Linked DNA regions of Homo sapiens: regions 1, 3 and 4 are each linked to region 2. Evidence: promoter capture Hi-C in 16 types of primary human blood cells and fetal thymus (Javierre and others, 2016). All regions are on one chromosome and are shown on one strand. The core of a region is centred on a gene start or on the middle of the fragment in contact, and the rest is flanking DNA. Distances in the headings are between cores, read along the strand shown.

Region 1 (3,296 bases), core at 652-3,151, 290 kb before region 2:
TCTACCCAATGAACTATCAGAACATAAAAGCCCAGAGACTTTTTGGAGCCAAACCAAAGGTCTGTGGGACTGCTGAGAGGGAAGGGCCAGCAGCTCTCCATTGTGCCCTCTCTGCTTTGCCTCTGGCCACCTCTCTGTGCTCAGAGTTTAAGTTCCCATGTTTAGTCCTCTTCTAGGAATCTTTCCCCTAGTGTGAAGGAGGGTACGATTCTACCTGAGCATGCCCTGTCATAATCCCAGCTTCCTTAATGTATTCTTTATTCCCTGCCAGGTGGAAAGCATTTGTGCTGCTCTTGTCAAATCAGCAAATCCCCAGACAGTAGACAGTGGCTGACTATATTGGCTGTGTATTGGGTGTGCAGGGACAACATTCTGATCTGGGGTTGATCTAAGGATAGGTGATTGCTTGGTGTCTCTAGAGTCTAGGGTGTGTTAATTTGTCTTTTCTTTCTGTCTCTATTACAAAGAAAGGCCAGACACTGGAGGTAGTTGGGAACTCATCTTTGTCATCATCATGCTGTGCCACAGGAAGAGTTGTCTAACTAGCTCAGCCAGAAGGTCCCTTTCCTTAGCTCCACCTCAGAGAGCCCTTTAGAAGAGGTTCATTCCTGGCCGGGCACGGTGGCCGGGATTACCCCTGTAATCCCAGCACTTTGGGAGGCTGAGGTGGTCGGATCATGAGGTCAGGAGATCGAGACCATCCTGGCTAACATGGTGAAACCCTGTTTCTACTAAAAATACCAAAATTAGCTGGGCGTGGTAGCAGGCACCTGTAGTCCCAGCTATTCAGGAGGCTGAGGCAGGAGAATGGCGTGAACCTGGGAGACGGAGCTTGCAGTGAGTGGAGATCACGCCACTGCACTCTAGCCTGGGCGACAGAGCGAAACTCTGTCTATAAATAAATAAATAAATAAATAAATAAATAAATAGTTTCATTCCCACTAATGGAATGTGAGTGACTGCTTTCCTTGGGATGGAAAGGCCTAGTGCTGTAAGGAGGCGGGGAGCCAGCACTGCGCTGGTATCTGTGTAGGTCCCCTACCATATTTCATCTAATCTGCATAGCACTAGGAAAGGAAACCTGGTGCCAATGAACCAGGCACGCCTTCTCAAAATAATAAAAATAAAATAAAATAAAATCTCAAGGCTTTGTAGCTGGGTAAGTGGCAGGGCTAAAGATTCAGCCCATGATGTTTAATGCCAAAACCCAAACTTGTTGCCAGCCTCCATCCCTGCCTTCCCCTGGAGCCTTGAGGCCCCCACCCCCATTTTCCACACTGCTATTGTGGAGCCAGAATGTGAATCTGACCTTGGCATTACCCTGCCTTGAAAGTACCTTTAGAGAAATGTCTCAGCTCCTTACTGATGCTTGCTGAGCCATCTCTGTCTCCTCTTCTTTCTCACACTCTCTACCTGCAGTCTGCTCTGCAACATTACATCAGCCTATTTCTTGATTCCATGCCGTGCGTCCCCTCAGCCTGAAAACCCTCTCCTTCACCCGATCTTCTGGCTAACTCTTACTCAACCCTTGGGACCCAATTCAGTTATTATTTCTGCAGGAAGCCCGAGGCTGAGTCAGGTGGCTTTCTGCTTGTGAAGTGTCCATCAGTGGACATCTTACTAGGGGAGTTTGTATGATTATGTATCTTTACTTTCTCATTGCTTAGCCTAATGCCTGGCACATAGTAGAAATCTGCAAACAGAGACTGAGTGAGAAAACATGCAGTTGATGCTGTGAGTGGGCATGATCTAAAGCGCATGGGCTGTAATTGGTTACTTGTGCAGCTGAGCCCTCAGCACAGCCTGGCTCAGCCTGTACGTGCTCTTGGGTAGTCAGGGGAACTGTGACTTGCAGGTAAGGGTTTCTGGTGTGCTTCTTGAGGGGACTGATGTAATACAATGTCTCACAGACTTATGGAACTGAAAAGCACTCCAAGGGGAGGGGAATGTTCCGCCCTGATTGCCCGTCAAGACCAAAGCTGTCAGCTAGAACATTTTTTGTTAAAATGACAAATGCCCAGCTCAAGCTGGCTTAAGCAGAAAAGCAAATGAATTGGCATTTTGGTTTATCTCTTATATGACAAACCCCTAAATTTGCTGGCTTAAACCAATAACAGTTTTATTATTTGCTCATAATTCTGCAGCTTGTCAGGACTTAGCAGGTTCAGCTCATCTTGGCTCTATGGAATCTGCTGGGATGGCTCGAATAGCTTGGGGATAGAACACCTCACCAGGCCTGTGTCTGTGACCTTGATTCTCACTTGTCCGGGCTCTTTGATGCTCTACATGTGGCCAGCTTGGGCCTCTTCAAAACATGGTGGTCTCAGGGTACTTGGACTTCTCACATGACAACTAGGTTTCTCCAGAGAGCCAAAGTTGAACTGCTAGACTCTTAAGGCCTACACCTGGAACTGGAGCAACATTACTTCTGTCATTTCCCTTTGGTTAAAACGGGTCCCAGGTGTTTCAGATAAGGGATACTCAACCTATACTACATAGTGACCAGTAAGAAGGAAAGTGTATTTTATCTCAAGTTCATGCTTGATTTGACTACATGGCTGCGGCTCTCCACAGCTGGGTGCTGCCTGGGTCCCATGCTGGGCAGTGCCTTTTGGGCACCAGCATTTAATTTTCACACTTGCATGGGAGCCCTGGCAGGACTTCACAGTTCTCAGACAGCCACTGCCTGCCCACACACTCCTGATCCCAGTACTTGCTGAGTGATTCTAGGGCTGGTGACTCTGGTACTGTGTCCACATTGCCTCCTCTTGGGTGACAGAGACAGAACATGTTCAATTAAGAGACTCTTGGCAACAGCCCATCTATATCAGCAATTGTTGATGCTCAGATCATTGTCATGTATCTCCTTTGTCAATGAACAAATATTACTGCGCTACTGTACACTGGGTACTGTGCTAGAGGCTGAAGATGTGATGAACTCAACAGCAACTGACATGCCACTTGTAGCTCTTAAACCTTTGTCCTAGAAGCAGGGAGCTGGACAAATGCCCACCAGGCGTGAGTGCCTTCTATGGTCTGCTGGGTTTCAAGCTCCTACAGTGCTTTTGCCGGTCTGATCCACCCACCCAGCCAGCCAGCTAGCTTCATGGGATCCTAGTGCAAGCCTAGGCCCATACTGGGCTCTTTGGGGCTTCTAAGAACTAATAGCCACAGTCCTTTCTCCTGGAGGAATTGAACAGCTAATTTAACATAGAGTACAAACTGTGAAGGAGGTTCAGCCAGAGGAGATGCTGAGATGGCAGACGGTATGGGAACTTCACAGCACAAACAAAAGA
Region 2 (3,238 bases), core at 424-2,923:
TTTTACTGCAAAACAGGTTTCTTTCACATATTTTGAAGTCGCTCTGCAAAGCTGTTTTTTGTGGGGAAAATCTACATTCTGTAGAGAATCCCTATCCCTTTCAAGGTCTTTTCTCCTGAGAGAATTAACTAGAGTCTGGCACCTTTTATTTATTTTTCCTTTTTTTTTTCCTTTTTTTTTTTTTTTTTTTTGAGACAGAGTCTTACTCTGTTGCCCAGGCTGGAGTGCAGTGGCATGATCTTGGCTCACTGCAACCTCTGCCTCCCCGGTTCAAGCGATTCTCCTGCCATCAGCCTCCTGAGTAGCTGGGATTACAGGCGTGTGCCACCACGCCTGGGTAACTTTTGTATTTTTAGTAGAGATGTGGTTTCACCATGTTGGCCAGGCTGATCTTGAACTCCTGACCTCAGGTGATCCGCCCGCCTTGGCCTCCCAAAGTGCTGGGATGACAGGCGTGAGCCACCACACCCGGCAGAGTCTGGCACTTTTTAATAAGAAACATTAACAGTCTTTTCTCTGTGAAGCCTGATACCTGGAGGCTTCATTTGCCTAAGAAACTTGGTCTCCACAACCCCTTAATGTAGACAGTCCCTTTTATTGATTCCAGGTCTTTAGATAAACTCTTTGAACCAACTGCCAATCCGCATGACCTAGAAGCCCCCCTCCACCCCCCACTTTCAAGTTGTCCCGCCTTTTCCGACTGAACCAATGTATATCTTACATGTGCTGATTGATGTCTTGTCTCCCTAAAATGTATAAAACCAAGCTGTGGCCCTACCCCCTTGGGCACTTGTCAGGATCTCCTGGGGCTGTGTCCCAGGCTATTGGTCACATATTGGCTCAGAAGAAATGTCTTCAAATATTTTACAGAGTTGGACTCTTCGCCGACACTGCCCTCCAAGGTTCACCCTGTTGGTGATGACGGGAGAAGTGGCACTTGGAGCACTGTTCGCAGGGGCGCTGAGCCTCCTCTCTGCCTAGCTTTCTTTCCTGCACATGTGGCCTTCCCCTAGCCATTGTGTAGGCAGGTCCTCCAGGGAGCCGGCTTCGCTGCAGTCTCCAGGACCTGGCCTTCCCGGTCTCTCTTTGCCTGACACTCTCTTAGGCCATTCCTGTTCCTCTTTCCCCACCCTCAGAACCGGCAGGCCCTCCCTCCTCCACAGCGGTTCGGCCTTAAAAAGACCCCTTTGGGGCGCACTTTTGGGCTGCTCACGGGACCTGAGCTTGCAGGTGTGAAGACCCTTGGAGTCCCAGCCAGGTTCCCACTTCGTTCTCTCCGCTCCCCACCCGCGCGACCCCTCGGCGCCCCGCCCCATGCCCCGCGCCTTTCGATGTCCATCCTTGCCGTCCCGCGCCCGCCGTCCCTAACCGGCGTCCAGAGACCCTACTCCCTTCGGTGGCCCCGCCGCTCAGGCCCCGGCCCCGGCCCTGCCTCTCTGCTTAACCAATGGCACGCCTCACTCCGTATGGTCCCGCCCTTCCCTTAGAGCCCGCCCCTCAGTCCCCGCCCTTAGGTCCCCGCCCTCCGCCGTCGCGACCTTAGGCCTCACCCTCTTCGGAGGGCTTTGGCTCTGGCCCCGCCCCCCATCTTGACGGTCATTGGCCCGCGCCTGCGTCGCGGGCGGGAGGCGGGGCGGGGCGGCGCGGCGCGGAGCCGAGCAGGACGGCCGCCATCTTGCGCGCAGCTGGAGTCGGTGCCTGAGGTTGCAGCCGAGAGTGTGCGCCAGCCCGCGGCCCAGCCGAAGCTCTTTCCCGCCGCCTCTCCGCGCCTCGCCCAGGTTCAGCTCCGCCTGACCCTCCGCTTGGCACGGTCCCCTGACCCTCAGTCCGGCCTGGTCCGGCCTTCCAGCCGCCCCGGGGACGATGAACGGAGGATAAATGGTGCCCAAGGCAGACAGCGGCGCCTTCCTGCTGCTCTTCCTGCTCGTGCTCACTGTCACCGAGCCGCTGCGGCCAGGTGCGCCGCGCGATGGGGGCGGTGTGGGGGCTGGGCGGCGAGCGGGGCCGGGGTCGCCCCGGGACCTCCTTTCACCCGCGGCGCCCTCCTGCAGGGGCCGCGCCTGGGGCAGGGGCGGGCGGGGCCTGGCTCGCGGGCCGCCTGGCACTCTCTGCGGACGCCTGCTGGAGCTTACCTGGGCTCGCGGCGCCTCGGACTTCGTGCAGCTCTGCTGTCCAGGATGTTGCCTCTGGGCCCTTCCCGGGAGCGGCGGCGGCCAGGAGCTACGCCACGGGCGCACCCTCTCGCCAGTCCAGCGTCGGAGTCGGGCTGGGGACAGTGGCTCTCAGGGGCACCTGGTTTCACAGACGTCCTCCCAGCAGTGGCCTAGTGCCAGCCTCTCAGTCCTGGAAACTCCTCGCCTGGACAGCGGTGGTTGTGGCTGTCATTCAGTGAGACGTTGCGCTAAGGAAGTCCTCAGGTCCCACCGGGCCTAGAGGAGGCACCAGGAGTCAGCCTAGCGTTGTGTGGCCGGCGCGAGCGTCCCGGGAGCAGAGACCTCGCCACTGTGCGGGGCCCTTAGCCGTGCTGCGTGTATGTGATGAATGAGTCCGTGCTTTGGAACTCCCCTCGGAGCTAGTGTGTTCTTAAGTCTGTGGTGGGGAATCAGAACCGTGGCAACCAGGAGACCCTTTTCTACCTATTTCGGTGTACCTCCCCTTGAACTGCACCAAAAAATCAAACTCCCTAAATGCAGGGCCGATGTATCCATCAGGCACAGGAATCCTGGTATCACTTGCCCACGGTACTTTTAGTAGCCTTCGAATGTTATTTTATTTTTTTTTAAAGTCAGCAGAAAAAAAATGAACTTTTAGGTCAAATAAAATGTTTTCGTATGTATATTAATACAGTCATCTTTATACTAATACAGTGAAAAAGCATGACTCTTAATATTTCTTAATGGAGGAAAGGTCCCATGAAGGCAGAAGTGCCAGGGCCATCTTCTCTGATGACCTGGGTGTGGGAGCACGGGGTGTGTGGCCCTCTCCTGTGCCCTAGCCAGGCTCCCAGCCCAGATACACCGCACCTCTTGGCTCTGCGCTTGTGTCATCTATGTGGAATGTCTGCCTCCTCCCTAGTGCCTGCCTGGTGGCCAAGGCCCTGACCGGTGCTCAACCTGGACAGATTCAGTGATGCTTCTCTGGTCTCCCCATGTAGAGCTAGTTGCTCACTGCTTTTGGCTGCTCTCTGGGCAGCGGGATGACTAGTTGTGGGGTGGCCTTGGTAAGAACAGAAGCCAGG
Region 3 (3,495 bases), core at 553-3,052, 350 kb before region 2:
GGACCGGGACAGAGGTCCTGGCCCCTTTACTGCCAGTGTGAGAGTCACCCTTGGTGATAGGAGGGAGTGCCCACCCTTACTGTACCTCCATGCTACTCTCAGAGGTTCTCTGTAGCTTCCTGCCCAAGCTTTTAACTTGATTTGCTTTATTAGAATTTTTAGGGAGATCTCAAATGGAATCTGCGTTACTTCCTAACACTAAGTGTGATTTTTATTGGAATATTTGTCTGAACTAACAAGCTAAATTCTGCTTTGATGGTTGAATCCCTGGACTTAAGCCAGCAGCCTTGGTTTGAATCCTGGCATCACCACTTGTGTGCTGTGAGGTCTTGTGTGCTCACCACTTGTGTGCTGTTACTTAACCTGTGGGCCTTAGTTTCCCCATAGATAAAAGGGGATAATGATAGTACCTACCTGACTGTTCTGGGAAGACTGAACAAGGGCCTTACACATGGCAAACACCATCACTACCATCAGTTCCTTCTCGGTCTTCTCCCGGGGGCCCAGTGTCTCCTGGGTTTTCCTGCCTCTTTTTGCCAGCCCTTCCTTTATGTGCCTGTGCACCTCTTGGGTCAGCACGTCACCAGTCCAGCTTACTTGCCTCTGGCCTTGCTTTCAGCCCACACCTCAAGGTCCATCAGAGAGAGGGGGCGTCCTATGTCATGACCCTGCTGAGAGCTCACACTGCCCGCTGGGCCCAGGCCCTAGGTTCTACCCCGTGTGGTGCCCCTCCCCTTCCCAACCACTCGCACACCTGTCCCCAGCCTGTCTTGCCTAATTATCCACCATTTCTGAACTGCCTGGGCTCCTCTTCCCTTCCACGCCTTTGCTCAGGCTGCCACCTCTGCCTGGATTTCCTCCCAGGTCTGCCCGCCCAGTGCCCAGCCTAAAGAACTCGGCCTCTAGGAGCCTAGCCCAGTAGCTCTGCCCCCTCCTGCCAGCTCTTCCCACAGCACCTGCAGCATCTGGTTGTGGTTTTCTTTGTTGGAAGGTTTCTACCTTCAAACTAGAAACCTTTGAAGGTCGGGATTTTGTCCAGGGCATGGTGGGCACTGAAATTATTTATGAATAAATGAATGAACACATCACTTTTTAAAATGTTGACTTCAGAAAATCACAAGTCTATGCCAGTGCTGTGTTACCAAGTTGCCAGGTTCCTCCTTGAGCCGTGCACTGTGCTCTCACAGAGGGGGATTCATCTGCCAGAGGAGTGTGGGGTTGAGGGCAGGATTGTGGGGAGGCTCCTTCTATGGGAAGGCGTGGGCCGAACAGGTGTCCCTTCATAGGAGCTGTGCCTCATAGTCTCTCTCTTATTTTCAGGCCGACTTAACATTACCTATCCCATGCTGTTCAAACTGACCAATAAGAATTCGGACCGCATGACGCATTGTGGCGTGCTGGAGTTTGTGGCTGATGAGGGCATCTGCTACCTCCCACACTGGGTGAGTGGGGCTGCCAGGGTCTCTAGAGAGCAGCCACTTAGGCAGAGACATCTCCTGCACTCGAGAGTCCTGGCCCTGGAGCAGGTGGCCCCGCCTACTCCTCCTGCTCAGCGTCTTAGCCTGAGCCGACCCAGCGAGAGAGAAGGGATCCAGAGCAGTGCACTGTGCCTTATGCGGGCTGGTGGGCTCTGGACGCACCTGTGGGCCACTGTGCTGTGGGAGTGGCCTTTTCTTTGATAGTTGCGCAGCTGAACTGTTCATCTGTGATTTCCTGGGTGAGGCGTTTTTAAAAATAATGGAGCAACAGTATTTTTTAGGTGGTCTAGTAAGTAGGGTGTTTGAGGTTTTTATGCTTTTCCCCTACTTTTAGTAGTCTGTCACAGCATACATGTTTTCAGTTACCTCTGACGTAGTCTCCCAAATCTCTCAACTGAGCTGCCATGGGAGTGACGTCTTTTTCCTTACAAGCAGGCTCTCTTTGGAAAGTTGACTTGAAGGATGTCATTGCAGATCTGGGCTGGGATATCCAGGGCGTGTGAGCCACCAGAGCCTGCCCTCAAGGCTGTACCCCTCAGAGAAGTGAGCAGAACTGTGCCAGTGCTGTAGGGAGGAGCCTGCAGCAGTGAGAGTTCCACACAGGTAGCTGTGGCCCACTTGGCTCCTTCTTCTCCTCACTCCTCTCCCCAGCTCTGGCACATTAGGGAAGTTCACAAAGGGACCTGCTTGTCCTTCTCTTTGTGCTTGGATTACATCAGGCATACTGAGAGACCCCGCAGTGAGCTGTGGGCTGGAAACTCTCAGGAGTGCTTGCTTGGCTGCCACCAGGGAGGTGGTCTGAAGCACAGCCCACCTCTCCTGCTGATGCCCTATCATGGTGGCCGCCAGACGTTCAGAAGGGATGGCCTTAACTAATATTTTCTGAGATTAAATATGAATTGAAATTCTGGCCAGGTACGGTGGCTCACGCCTCTAATCCCAGCACTTCGGAAGGCCAAAGTGGGCAGATCACTTGAGGTCAGGAGTTCGAGACTAGCCTGGCCAACATGGTGAAACCCCGTCTCTACTAAAAATACAAAGACTAGCCGGGTGTGGTGGCACGTGCCTGTAGTCCTAGCTACTTGGGAGACCGAGGCAAGAGAATGGCTTAAACCCAGGAGGCTTAGGTTGCAGTGAGCCGAGATCATGCCATTGCATTCCAGCCTGGGCGACAGAGCGAGACTCCATCTCAAAAAAAAAAAACAACAATAATATGAATCAAAATTCTGAAGGTCTCTTTCCTGCTGTAGCAGGTGACCTTGCCCATGCTGCCATGGTAGTGGCATCCTCTTCAGCCTGGGTCCCAGGGTCCTTCCCAAGGTCTGGGCCTGGCCAGTGTCTCCCCGACAAGAGCCCTGCACTCCCATTGCACCTCCTAGTGCCTGGCCTTCCCATGCTGCCTCCTCACCTCAGCTGACTAGGCCTGCCCAACCTGGCCTGTTGGGGGGCTTTTATGCCTCAAAGCCCAGATTGGCTCACCTGCCCTCCCCAGTATTTGCTGCTCAGCCCCTTGCTATTCTTGTGTTTGTCTGCAGGTGCCCCCAAGGGCCTGAGGCCACATTGTGCTCATCCGGTAGAACACCTGGTCACTGAAGCCACTCTAGGTAGCTGAAGTGTCAGGCAGTGACTACTTCCCCAGTCCCTTCTGTGGCTCACCTATAAGAGGAGGTGGTGATGCTGGGGATACACTGTATCTCGAAGGTTCTCCTTTAACCCATAGACTTGAAGTTTGGGTGGCCTCTTGTCCAAGCTGTTGGACTGCTTTAGACCAGGAAACTAATTGAACCCTTTCTCCCCTGGAAAGCCTCTTTAGGTAGCCTGGAGCTGGTTTGGGGTGTGAAGCCATCAGGCCACCTCTTCCCCTGAGCTGGCCTTCCAGCTCCTGGCATGGGCAGGCGGGTGACAGGTATACCCCATCTGCTGTCTTGGAGGGCATGTGAGCCAGTGCTTTTTCTGGGCTGGCTGGTGGACTCCATCCCACCCATGCTCCCAAGCTTCTTCAGGGCGAGCCAGCCTG
Region 4 (2,989 bases), core at 151-2,650, 380 kb before region 2:
CACTGGGACCCCATCCACGAAGCGCCCCCATCCTCAGCCCTTTTTTCGTTTTTTTTTTTTGAGACGGAGTCTCGCTCTGTCGCCCAGGCTGGAGTGCAGTGGCACGATCTCGGCTCGCTGCAAGCTCCACCTTCTGGATTCACGCCATTCTCCTGCCTCAGCCTCCCGAATAGCTGGGACTATAGGCACCCGCCACCATGCCTGGCTGATTTTTTGTATTTTTCGTAGAAACGAGGTTTCACCGTGTTAGCCAGGATGGTCTCGATCTCCTGACCTCATGATCCACTTGCCTTGGCCTCCCAGAGTGCTGGGATTACAGGCGTGAGCCACAGCGCCCGACCTCCTCAGCCCTTTTCTTAAACATATCCATCACTGCCCCTGGCACCGTGAGCGCAGTTGTGAGTGTGGACTGTCCCCCACGGTGGATTTCCCCTCTACAGGACGAGAGCCTGGTCCTGCCTGCTTCCTCGGCATGCTCAGTTCCCACCACTGCCCCTCCCAACTCCTGGGAACTCCCAGGCCTTCAGACCACCATGCTCCCTGCCCACACTCCAGCAGCTTCCTCAAGCCCCAGCATCCTCAGCTCCCTGACTCCCTCCCTCCTGTCTCAGTCACACACTCCCATGGTCCCTGGGTAAGTGAGCCCACCCTGCCACGCACATGATGGGACCAGCTCCAGTGCACAGCGGCTCCCCTCCCCAGGAGTTCAGCCAGCTCCACCCCGCTCCCCAGGCTCCGATGGCCACCTGACTACTGACGTGTCCACCCTCACTCTTCCTCCTTCCCAGCCATCACAGTGCAGAGACAGGGCAGCTCCGTCCCTGACATCATGCTATCTGACTGCTTACAGCCACTGCTGCAGTTTGGGCCAAGCCACTATTGTGTGGCCTTGGAAAGCAGTGACCATCTCCTTGCCCCCAACCTACCTCTACTGGGCAGCCAAGGGACCTTTTAAAAACCCTGACTCAAACTCTGGTCACTCCACAGCCTCCCGCTGCCCTTGGCTCACAAGGCTTGCTCTGGCCTCCTGACACCTGACCCCAGCCAGTCCCCCAGCCCCTCCTGTGCTCAGTACAGCAGCTGCCACACTGAGTGTGGCTGAGACTGTGTGAGATGTGGTCTCCCCATGGTCTTTTCTGAGCACTCCACCAATGTCCCATGTGCTTCTCAAAAGACACGTCACGCTGTGTGATTACATGGCAGCTGCCTTCTTTCCTGACTGCGTGAACCACTGCCCGCACTGCTACCATGTCCAGAGCCAGGCCCACAATAAGCACTTTACAGGGATGTGCTGGAGAAGGGTGATACTTCCAAACTCAGCTCTGGCATTTAGAAGCCAAAGCCACACAGATGAGCTGGGGTAGCACACCACAGCCCCTTCCCCCAAAACTTCCTGCCCCACCTGCTTTCCCTCCTGGGGATGTGGCCAGAACCCACAGAGGGTGACAAAGCAAACAAGGCCTGCTGAGCAGGGGTGCTGCCTGTGCCCCTCAGGCTGGGCCACAAGGATACTCATACTCAAAGGAGATCCGTGTGCAGTCCACGGAGAGTGTGTTCTCCTCATCCTCGTTCCGGTGGTTGTGGCGGGAAACGTGGCGCTGCAGGACACCAACATCAGTCACGTATTTCATTCTGGAAAAAAAAGTAGCACAAGCCTCGGCTGGTTCCCTCCAGCTCTTACCAGGCAGCCTAAGCCTAGGCTCCATTCCCGCTCAAGGCCTTCCTCAGGGGCCTGCTCACCACAGGAGCTGTTCCCATGCAGGGACTAAGGACATGCAGCCTGCATAGAAACCAAGCACCCAGGAAAACATGATTGGATGGAGCGGGGGGGTGTGGTCTCTAGCCTTGTCCACCTCCGGTCCTCATGGGTCTCACACCTCCTGAGAATGGGCACCGCAGAGGCCACAGCCCATACAGCCAAGATGACAGACTCCGTAAGTGACAGGGATCCACAGCAGAGTGGGTGAAATGTTCCCTATAAACTTTACAAAATTAATGAGGGCAGGGGGAGGGGAGAAATGAAAATGAACCCAGCTCGCAGCACATCAGCATCAGTCACTAGGTCGGCGTGCTCTCTGACTGCTTCCTCGTAGCTGCTTGGTGTCTCATTGCCTCAGAAGCATGTAGACCCTGTCACAAGATTGTAGTTCCCCTAACTGCTCCGTAGATCACAACTTGAACCTTAGGAAATGCTGTTTTCCCTTTGAGATATTCCTTTGGGTCCTGTATACTGATGGAGCTACTGACTGAGCTGCTCCGAAGGACCCCACGAGGAGCTGACTAAACCAAGAGTGCAGTTTGTACACCCTGATGATTACATCCCCCTTGCCCCACCAATCAACTCTCCCAATTTTCCAGCCCCTCACCCTCCAGTCCCCTTAAAAGCCCCAGCCCAGGCCGGGCACAGTGGCTCATGCCTGTAATCCCAGCACTTTGGGAGGCCAAGGTGGGCAGATCACCTGAGGGCAGGAATTTGAGACCAGCCTGACCAACATGAAGAAACCCCGTCTCTATTACAAATACAAAATTAGCCGGGCGTGTTGCTGCATACTGGTAATCCCAGCTACTTGGGAGGGTGAGGCAGGAGAATCACTTGAATCTGGGAGGCGGAGGTTGCGATGAGCCGAGACAGCGCCATTGCACTGCAGCCTGGGCAACAAGAGCAAAACTCCATCTCAAAAACAAACAAACAAACAAAACCAAAAAAGCCCAGCCCAGAACTCCTCAAGGAGATGGATTTGAGGATCTCCTCCCATCTTCTCACTCGGTGCCCTGCAATCATGAAACTCTTCCTCTGCTGCAAACTCTGCTGTCTCAGTGTAACAAGTCTGTTACTGCACAGCAGGCATACAAACCTGCTGGTCCTATAACACATTATGGTGAGTCTAGCCTCGAGCCCCTTGTGGGCATTTGCTTGCCTGCGGCTTGGTGCGCCTTCGCTGTTCAGTGGGAAGGACCCAGAGACAAGCCCAAAGCCCAAGCGGCCACT

The links. The method cuts DNA at HindIII sites, captures the fragments that hold promoters and counts their contacts. A CHiCAGO score of 5 or more calls a contact.
Region 1: a fragment that was not itself captured here is called in contact with the fragment with the promoter of DGCR2 in region 2 in 3 of 17 cell types (naive CD8 T cells, neutrophils and activated CD4 T cells); the score reaches 8.3 in naive CD8 T cells.
Region 3: a fragment that was not itself captured here is called in contact with the fragment with the promoter of DGCR2 in region 2 in 1 of 17 cell types (total B cells); the score reaches 5.3 in total B cells.
Region 4: a contact is called between a fragment that was not itself captured here and the fragment with the promoter of DGCR2 in region 2, in 1 of 17 cell types (naive B cells). The highest score is 5.0, in naive B cells.

Annotation. Positions count from the first base shown.
Region 1 is chr22:19,411,229-19,414,524 of GRCh38, reverse strand. The region is part of intron 1 of HIRA (histone cell cycle regulator); the gene reads left to right. Among named protein-coding and RNA genes, the nearest start is that of HIRA, 19 kb to the left of the region's middle. The HindIII fragment of the contact is 3,879 bases long and covers 1-3,296 here.
Region 2 is chr22:19,120,847-19,124,084 of GRCh38, reverse strand. It overlaps DGCR2 (DiGeorge syndrome critical region gene 2), which reads left to right and starts at 1,673. Exons shown (of 10, transcript NM_005137.3): 1 at 1,673-1,957. The coding sequence starts at 1,879. RefSeq lists silencers at 1,349-1,788, 1,909-2,028 and an enhancer at 1,813-2,314. The HindIII fragment of the contact is 21,190 bases long and covers 1-3,238 here.
Region 3 is chr22:19,469,634-19,473,128 of GRCh38, reverse strand. It overlaps UFD1 (ubiquitin recognition factor in ER associated degradation 1), which reads left to right. Exons shown (of 12, transcript NM_005659.7): 4 at 1,321-1,442. Among named protein-coding and RNA genes, the nearest start is that of UFD1, 7.8 kb to the left of the region's middle. The HindIII fragment of the contact is 3,344 bases long and covers 131-3,474 here.
Region 4 is chr22:19,504,005-19,506,993 of GRCh38, reverse strand. CDC45 (cell division cycle 45) reads right to left here. Exons shown (of 19, transcript NM_003504.5): 10 at 1,513-1,632. Among named protein-coding and RNA genes, the nearest start is that of CLDN5, 19 kb to the left of the region's middle. RefSeq lists enhancers at 122-622, 623-1,123. The HindIII fragment of the contact is 4,984 bases long and covers 1-2,989 here.